Regions from separate parts of the Homo sapiens genome. Here regions 2 and 3 are each linked to region 1. Evidence: promoter capture Hi-C in 16 types of primary human blood cells and fetal thymus (Javierre and others, 2016). All regions are on one chromosome and are shown on one strand. The core of a region is centred on a gene start or on the middle of the fragment in contact, and the rest is flanking DNA. Distances in the headings are between cores, read along the strand shown.

The links. Contacts are between HindIII fragments. The CHiCAGO score rates a contact against its expected background, and 5 or more counts as called.
Region 2: a fragment that was not itself captured here is called in contact with the fragment with the promoter of ATXN7L1 in region 1 in 1 of 17 cell types (naive CD4 T cells); the score reaches 5.4 in naive CD4 T cells.
Region 3: the fragment with the promoter of RINT1 here is called in contact with the fragment with the promoter of ATXN7L1 in region 1 in 3 of 17 cell types (monocytes, naive CD4 T cells and total B cells); the score reaches 9.0 in monocytes.

Annotation. Positions count from the first base shown.
Region 1 is chr7:105,875,329-105,878,028 of GRCh38, forward strand. ATXN7L1 (ataxin 7 like 1) reads right to left here and starts at 1,271. Exons shown (of 12, transcript NM_020725.2): 1 at 1,050-1,271; 2 at 484-552. The coding sequence starts at 1,230. RefSeq lists a silencer at 1,314-1,523. The HindIII fragment of the contact is 13,815 bases long and covers 1-2,700 here.
Region 2 is chr7:106,150,269-106,153,071 of GRCh38, forward strand. No RefSeq gene overlaps it. Among named protein-coding and RNA genes, the nearest start is that of SYPL1, 39 kb to the left of the region's middle. The HindIII fragment of the contact is 4,604 bases long and covers 1-2,803 here.
Region 3 is chr7:105,530,877-105,533,576 of GRCh38, forward strand. It overlaps RINT1 (RAD50 interactor 1), which reads left to right and starts at 1,325. Exons shown (of 15, transcript NM_021930.6): 1 at 1,325-1,481; 2 at 1,948-1,993. The coding sequence starts at 1,440. RefSeq lists enhancers at 606-655, 943-1,520, 1,106-1,405, 1,496-1,675, 1,521-2,097. The HindIII fragment of the contact is 4,822 bases long and covers 1-1,578 here.

The DNA.
Region 1 (2,700 bases), core at 21-2,520:
GGGCCAAATGTAACTTGCTGCAAAGGTTTGCCATGTACAATGGTTTTCAGTGGTGAGTGGAGAAGTAGCTGCTGGAATGACTGACCATGTGGGGTTCATTAAGCTGTTGTGCATTCACCCACGAGAAAGGCTGGGATGCTTGTGAAGGGAACTCCACTCTTCATTTCAGAAATTTTAACGCCCCACCATTTGGCAATGATGCTCCCAAGGAGAATGGCAGATATGCATCAGAAGGTTCAAACGTGGAGTCCAACTGAAGTGCAGTAAACTTCTGCCTTCAACAGTCTCACCCCCCTTTACCCCCCCCCCAGTTGTATTTATACTTTGAAAGAAGTTAACATGAAGCAGTAGTCACCTGGGCGTGCTCAATTTTTGACAAGCCTTAGTCACTCTGTACCCAGCAGAACAATTCACATTATATTCGAAATCCTGTGAAGATTCTGCCACACATGCTAACACTAAAATGCCAGTAGCTCCACTTACCTTCTTTATTAAGCCTCATAACCTCCCTGCTTTTTCCACCCTCTTTTCCAGCCTCTTCTAAATCTACATCTGCAGATGAAAAAGAAAAGGAAAACAGAAAATAAGGAAAAAAGGGGGGAAAAAAGCCAAAGTCAAGGGGGGAGGGAGAGTGTTTATTTGCAAACAGATCGATATAAATACTGTATATGAAATTCTTTCAAAAATTGACAATGCAACATTTTCTCCCAAGTCTGGGTTTCCATCTACCTGGCCCAGATAGGTACCCAAAAAACTATGCAAGCAGCAACAAAGTAGCCTTTTAAACGGACAACACCGTGGGGCTGCGAGCCCACCCCGCGGGCTGCCACGGGGAGCCGGGCACAGACAGACAGACAGCCCTGGCAGCCGGGCCTCTCCCTGTGCATTGATGATCTGTCTCTGTGTGTATTTATTTAGAGAGAGAGGGAGAAGCATGGAGGACACCGGGGGCCACTCTCTCTCTCACACACACACTTTTTCCCAGTGGCTCTAGGTGAATGGAAAGGTTACAGGATAATAAAAGGAGGAGGAGGTGGTGGGGTTCTTACTGTCGGAGCAGTGTAATTTGGCGGCGTCGATCCAGGAGGACCAGGGTTTGCCCAGAAACGCCTCCGGACTGGGCACTTTGCGATCCAGTGTCGCCATTGCTCTTCCTTCTTGTTGCTTTTTCCCTGTTCCTTCGGCAGCAGCAGCCGAGAGACACGGGATTCGAGAACGCTCCGACGTCATCTTCGGAACGTTCCGACATTGAGTGTTCTGAAAGGGGGAGGGAGGGAGGAAGGGCGGGATGGGAGGAGGGCGGCGGAGGAGGAGGGGAGAGGGAGCGGAGGAGGGGCGGGCGCTCGGGCTCCCGGAGCCGGCTCGGTGGGGCTCGCGCGCCCGCGGCCGCCAGGGGCAGCAGAGAGGCACCTGCAGTCCGCGCCCGCCCGCCCGCCGGGGCCGCCCGCCTGCCGGGGAGGGGCAGCGCGGACGGGCGAGCGCCGCGTGCGGGAGAGCGAAGGCTGCAGCGCGCCCGGCAGCCGGGATGCAGCGGCGCCGCCCAAGCCTGGGGCGCAGGGGTCGGGGCACACGGGGATAGGCCCGACGCGGGGCCGAAGGAAGGGTGGTCTTTCCCGCAGAGTTGCCGCTGGAGGACCGAAAGTTTTGCAGGCAGCCCTTGCTTCCAGCTTGTCGCTCTCTCCCCGCGTCCCTGTCGCCCAACGCGAGGCGCCCCCGCTGGGGTCCCGACGGCTTGGTGGGGAGGAGCCGTGAGGGGTTGCGCCCCCCACCCCCACCCGAGCCAGGGAAGGGACCCTGGTGACCTCGCCTCCCAGCCCTCACCCCCGTCACCCCTTTCTTCTCTTTCCTGGAGGACTTTGGACCATGGAGATTCTGCAGTTGTTGCTCTAGGAGCTGAAACCAGTGGGTAGATGTCGTTCTGAAACGCAGGTGAGTTTGGAGCGCTACGAGCTACCTTCCCATCTCAGGCTGCGGGGCGTGCAAAACTCAAAAGTTAGGGCCCCCGGACCCCCGGGTTCCCCGCGCGGTGCGTATCTCCGGCTCTCAGAGAACCACTGCATGGACTTTGCTCCAGGGTCAGCAGAGCGGGAGGGCGAATTTACGGCTCTTGGAAGACGACGCTAACGGGCCTAGCCCCTGAGCCGTTTCCAGCGCTCCCTGCCGTGAGACGAGGGTGGCCCGGGTTTGCGCAGGCAACCTTTGGCCAGGAATCTGATTCCTGGGAGAATTCACTTCAGGCTTAACTGCTCTAGCCAGCTAGAAAGGGAGCGCTAGATTTCCTCTGGATTTTGGACGTTGGGTGCTTTAGTTGAGATTTTCACCCTTTAAAGAAGGCTTTAAAAAGTCTTCTGTTACTTCTTTTTAACAAATCCTTTTGTTTACTAGAATTATCTAAACTATATGGACACCGCCCTCACCCCACAAGCGACATATTTTTTTTTCTCTTTCGCCAGCACCCTTTTAGCTCTCACCACTGCTGTTTCCCAAGTTGTCACAGCTGAAGCGCACTGATTGGAAGTTGCTTTGTACTGACTGAGTTCTGCCCTGGCTGAACCATCTAATAATTTCCCTGAGCTTGGCACCCTGTATCGCTAAGCCAGTGTTAGGATGGGCGATGAAGGAGGAGCTGCGGATTTGCCTTTAGTTGTGATGTTTGTGTGAGTCGGCTTGTTTGTGTCAGACTCAGATAAACTGCATTTG
Region 2 (2,803 bases), core at 261-2,760, 280 kb after region 1:
AGGGTGTGGATTCTAGTGTGGGGTGTGGCATTATTAGGTTAATTTATAGCTAAATGTGGAAAGAGCAAATAGTCTCAAGAGATGAATACGTAGCTCAAAGTGGGGAGTAGGGCATGATTGTAGTCTCATTTTAATGTCTCTCTGGGCCTGATAATTAAAAGGACTTGCATTCCTCAGATAAAAGCTCTTTTTTCTGCCCCTGGCTAATAGTTATCTAATATACTCGACTCCTTTAGTTCTTTGAACCTTACGTTTTGGAGGTCATAGAAGTTACAGAGGGCAGGAGTCAGAGGCACGGGCCGGGCCCTGTTCTGTGCTTGACCACCTTGCTGCTGTGGTAGGGCATTCACCACTCTTCCCATCTCTCCTGGTCCTTGGCCCTTCATCGCTGGAGGTGGAGTTGTTACAGAGGCCAAATATGGGGAGAAACCGTTTACATTCGGTTTTCTGGGGAGCCAAAATGAAAGACCCCAGTGGAGTGGAGCAATGAGTTTACACCTTTAGTAGACTGGAAAGAAACTAAAAAGGGAGATGTCTCCTCAGTGCACTGGAAGAGGGTGAAGGGCGATGCAATCTTGGGAAAGCTGGGGGCTGGGGTGGGTGAACTGCATTGGATGGTCCGTGTCGGGCAGAATCATCGGCATGCTCAGCCCACCATTGTCCCAAGCCAAGCCAGTTGGTACTGGTGCAGAGAAGTAGCTTCAGCTTCTGGTCTCAAAGCCATCCTCTGAAGGATGCCACCACCTCTCAAGCCCTTTTAGAAATGGAGATGGACTGGTGGTGGCATGGGAGGGCAGACCTAAGTCTGGTATGTCAGTGGAGCCAGACAGAAGGGCAGGCAACTCTAGTTACATTAAAATAGCAATGTATTGTTGACGGGTTGGAATTGCACACTTACAATCACACTATTCTATCTATAGTATTATCCCATTTAATGATAAATATGTATTTGTATATATGTATATCCGAAAAGATCTGGAAGGTTATTTCTGCAGCTTTAAAAAGAAATTGTCTTTGGGTGGAATTATTAGCACTTTTGATGTTCCTCTATTTTTTTTTGTATTTGTACTATGTATCTGCATAACTTTCTGGTTAAATGAGTTTATGTTTACAATTTAAATAAAAAGAGAAGGAGCATCATTTGGCTGCACCTCCCTCAACTTCAGATGTAACTTGTGGGGGTGGAGGACAGGGCAGGGAGGCCAGCTGGGGTGTTCCTCCTAGAGTTGGCGTTGATGGTAGGGCCTCACTCTGTTCCCTACACAGGTTGGTCACTGCCCAGCCTCTAAGATGCGAAGCTCTCTCCAGACCCTCTGGCCCCCTTACTCTAAGGTTCTAATGTTATTTCTGTTTCAATATGGGGAAGAGAAACAAAAACAGATGCTGCCTATCTCGATCAGGGAAAGGCAAGAGGGTGTCTTTCTTCCATCTGGGTTTTCTCTGTGACTGTTAACTGGATGCTTACAATGCATGGGGCAGGGTAACCTCCTGCCACTTATAGTGGTGGGGGTTGATGTCAGTGACTTAAGAAAATTAGGGAATAAATGTTTCAGTTATTTTCTCCAGTAACAGAAGGAGGGAGGAGTTGAGGCAGGTATGGTGGCTCCAAAAGGTTACTGGTGTCAACCCCTCCTGTGTATGCCTGCCACTCCTGTGGGTGGCTGTCAGCACTGAGCTCACAAGATGACTGCTGGACCATCCCTGCTGTGGCCGTGTCCCTGTTTCAGTCAGGATCGGACAGGGACAGGGGCAGATGCACCTCCCAAAAGGCCTCATCCCCAGGCTCGCCGGCATATTTAGTGACATTAATCTGTGCAAGAGGCTTGGAATGCAGTTTTTTGTTGTTGTTTCTTTTTAAACAAACATACTGTCCAAAGTTCTCTCACTAAGGAAGGAGGAAGAATAGACTTTGAGCAGGCAACAAGTACTGTCACATAGTCCAAAAGCTCTGATTCTCACAGAAAAGTCCATAATCTTTAAGTGCTGCAGAGATTTCAGGATCAAGGTAAATTTGTAAAAAGTTGGGAAACCAAAGGTATTATACAGTCCCATGGGAAGAGTTTGCTCAACAAGACGGTTCTTTTGCTGTAGTTGGTGAGCCAGGTTCTTGCTCCACGTTCACCCTCAGGGCTTGGTGGGGTTGGGGTTAGCCTGCTCTGCAGCTAGGCTGGCACCTGTCAGTACCTGGGTGATTGTTCCAACACAGACGGTACGTAGGAAGCTGGCACAAGAGCTGACGGTTCTTGTTTGTCATCCCCTATATTTCCTTGTGTCCCCACTCAGTTGGGCCTGCCTGCATTCTTTTGACAGTCGCTAAAGTCACAGACATACTTGACCTTGCAGTTTTTAGAGGGGACCTGTCACCTTTCAATAAACAAGAGGGAAGATCTTTGAGCAGTGAGTTCCAGAGACCCTGTTAAAAAGAAAAACCTTAGACAAGTTTAGCAGAGTTTAAGTGAGAAAAAAACAAAAACTCAGAAAACAAAAACACATGACATGTGAATCAGGCAGCCCTCTGATTCAGAACGGGTTCTAAGAACATGGTCAACAATGTGATCAAGTGTTATGGATGCACGGAAAACAGAAGTGAGGTACATATAGGGCTTAACTGGTTCCGGCTCAGCGTTTGCCTTATTTGATCGTTGGCAGCCAGGGATTGAAGGAAGCTCAGTTGCCGTGATGGCGGAGACTCAGCTATTTTTTACAAAAGCATACTCCTAAATTTAGGCTTTCAATTAGATTAGTAAGCCAGGCTGCCTGCAGTTAGTTAAGTAAGGACTTGGGTGCAAAGGCTTCCTCAGGC
Region 3 (2,700 bases), core at 75-2,574, 340 kb before region 1:
AACATCGTCTCTACTAAAAATACAAAATTAGACGGGCGTGGTGGTGCATGCCTGTAATCCCAGCTACTTGGGAGGCTGAGGCAGGCGAATCGCTTGAACCTGGGAGGCGGAGGTTGCTGCGAGCAGAGATAACGCCATTGCACCCCAGCCTGAGCAAAAAAAAAACAAACACACATGTACACTATAAATATATACGATTATGTTCCCATAATAGGTAATTTAAAAAATAGTATCCTTGTTTTTTTTTTTTTTTTTAAATGAGACGGAGTCTTGCTCTGTCGTCCAGGCTAGAGTGCAGTGGTGCGGTCTCTGCTCACTGCACGCTCCACCTCCCGGGTTCACGCCATTCTCCTGCCTCAGCCTCCTGAGTAGCTGGGACTACAGGCGCCCACCACCACGCCTGGCTAATTTTTTGTATTTTTAGTAGAGACGGGGTTTCACCATGTTAGCCAGGATGGTCTCGATCTCCTGACCTCGTAATCTGCCTGCCTCGGCCTCCCAAAGTGCTGGGATTACAGGCGTGAGCCACAGCGCCCAGCCATCCTTGTTTTATGCTTGCAATAGTAATTTGTAGCTCGATTATATATCTCTGTGCACATGTATTTGATTTTTCTTCTCACCGTGTGGTTTCTTTTTCCTCTGAGGGTTGCTTTCCCCCCCCCTTGTTTGTTATGGTCTCTATGGTACTCCTTCCGTGTTAGTTTGTTTAAGAGGCTGTCAAGTCCACAGGTCCTCTACACAACCCTTGCTGCTAGGTAGCTCCCTTTCCTCCTCCCTGGTAAAAGACAGGGTTTTGGGCGAAACACATGTTAGATGCTCTGTTCTCTTCATTCAGCTCCCAGAACGCTTATAACCACCTCTACACCCTCTAGGCAGGAAATCAGAAGCTCATCTCTAGGGACTCTGACCAACGTTAAAAGAAATATCTAAAGATACTGACATTCATTGGAAACCCCCAACTAAATATTCGAACCAAATAACCCTGCACCGAAGCTCCTAGTCAACAAGCCCCCCACACTCTCAGAACATCTGGATATTGCCTAAAATATAAATTTAAATTATTCATATTGAATTTAAGGCGTTGGGAGAGGGATATCTTAAAGTTCCATCATTAAGAGCTTCAATAAAGTGGAGGGGACTTTTACCGCGGTGGAGTGAGCGAATCCCTTCTCTGGAGCTCCATAGGGGAGGGTGCCCGCTTCCTGAGTGGCCGTTCCGACCTCCGGTCAGGAGGGGGAGGAACAGAGCACGGCCGGCGGCTGCACGGGCAGGGCCTCTCTGGGCTGAGAGGAAGAAACCAGTGAGACATCGAGAGGAAGTCGCTGTGGCACTCAGTCCTACGGCCTCCGAGGCTGGGTAGTGAGTGTGTCGCTGGCCTTAGCCAGACTCCACAGGCCACGCTGGCTGCGAATGGAGCCGAGGACTCGCGCGGAGGCGAGATGCTACCAGCCGGCGAGATCGGCGCCTCTCCTGCAGCCCCGGTGAGACGGCCCTGGCGTCCCTGGGAGGGGACATTGGTGGCCCATTGAGGTGGCACAGACCTCCCGGGGGAGATAGTCCCGGTGCGGTGGCCCTGTAAGCTTGTGAAGGTGCTTCCTGCGGCTTAGATTAGAGGCCCTTGTAAGACCTCCTAGAGGAGGCGGTAGTCCCCGTGAAGTGGCTTTGGCGGCCCTGGTGAGATGACAGATTTCTCTAGGGAGGTGGCTCTAGTGAGCAGGCAAGGTAACTCCAGGTCCTGCGGAGGTGACACACACCTCCTGGGAAGGTGGCGGTGGCACCAGGACAGTGGCACTTTGAGGTACCTGATTCGGACGGCCCTGGTCGCTCAGAAAGTGGGAGAGCGTCTGGAACCTCTCTTGCCTCCAGTGGGTGCCCTTTGGGAGCCCCGTATGCTTTCCATCCACGACTTTAATCTTAATGTGCTTGTCACATCTGTTCTTCTTCTAGTGCTGCTCTGAAAGTGGTGACGAAAGGAAGAACCTCGAGGAGAAAAGTAAGCCAGCTCCAAACACCTTAGCTTTTTCTTCCCGCCCAAACTCAGCCTTCCAGGGTCTGCAATATAGAAAGGTTCTTTGCCTATCTTTTAGATGCAGTACCGTTTTCTGCACAATATGCTTATATGGTAATACTGATGACCATGATACACATATTTTTGTCTTTCTAAAATTGTAAAATATGGGATGCTTTGGAGAAGAGCACTTCCCGATCCATACCTAGTACAGGGACTAGAGTGTTTTCGCTGGAAGTCTGCCTATCATACAGTACTCAGAATAATTGGGGCCTGCCTGTCATTTTAATGAAACATCAACTTACTAAGCATCAGGAATTTGGAGGGGCCCATGATCTAGGACAGACGACCACCACCCTAATTGGGTTCAAAGGAGGCAAATGACAGTTGTTTAGTTCACCTTCAGTAAATTGGCAATTTAAAATTGCTCTGGCAAGAGCACAACGGATAACTTGGGTTCTGGATCTTGGACTGGACAGGAAAGGGGGAAAAGGTCAGTACCACCATTTCCTCCCTAGTACGGGAGTATATGTCAGGGTTGTGGACTTTTGCCATTTTACTTTGATGGCAGGTTATTGCAAATCAAGGGCTCTTTAGGGACCTTTGAAGTGACATTTTTTGGGAGAGGAAGGGGAAAAGCATGTGATAGCTCTGCTATTGGGATTTTTGGTTCTTTTGACTGTGGCAAACAG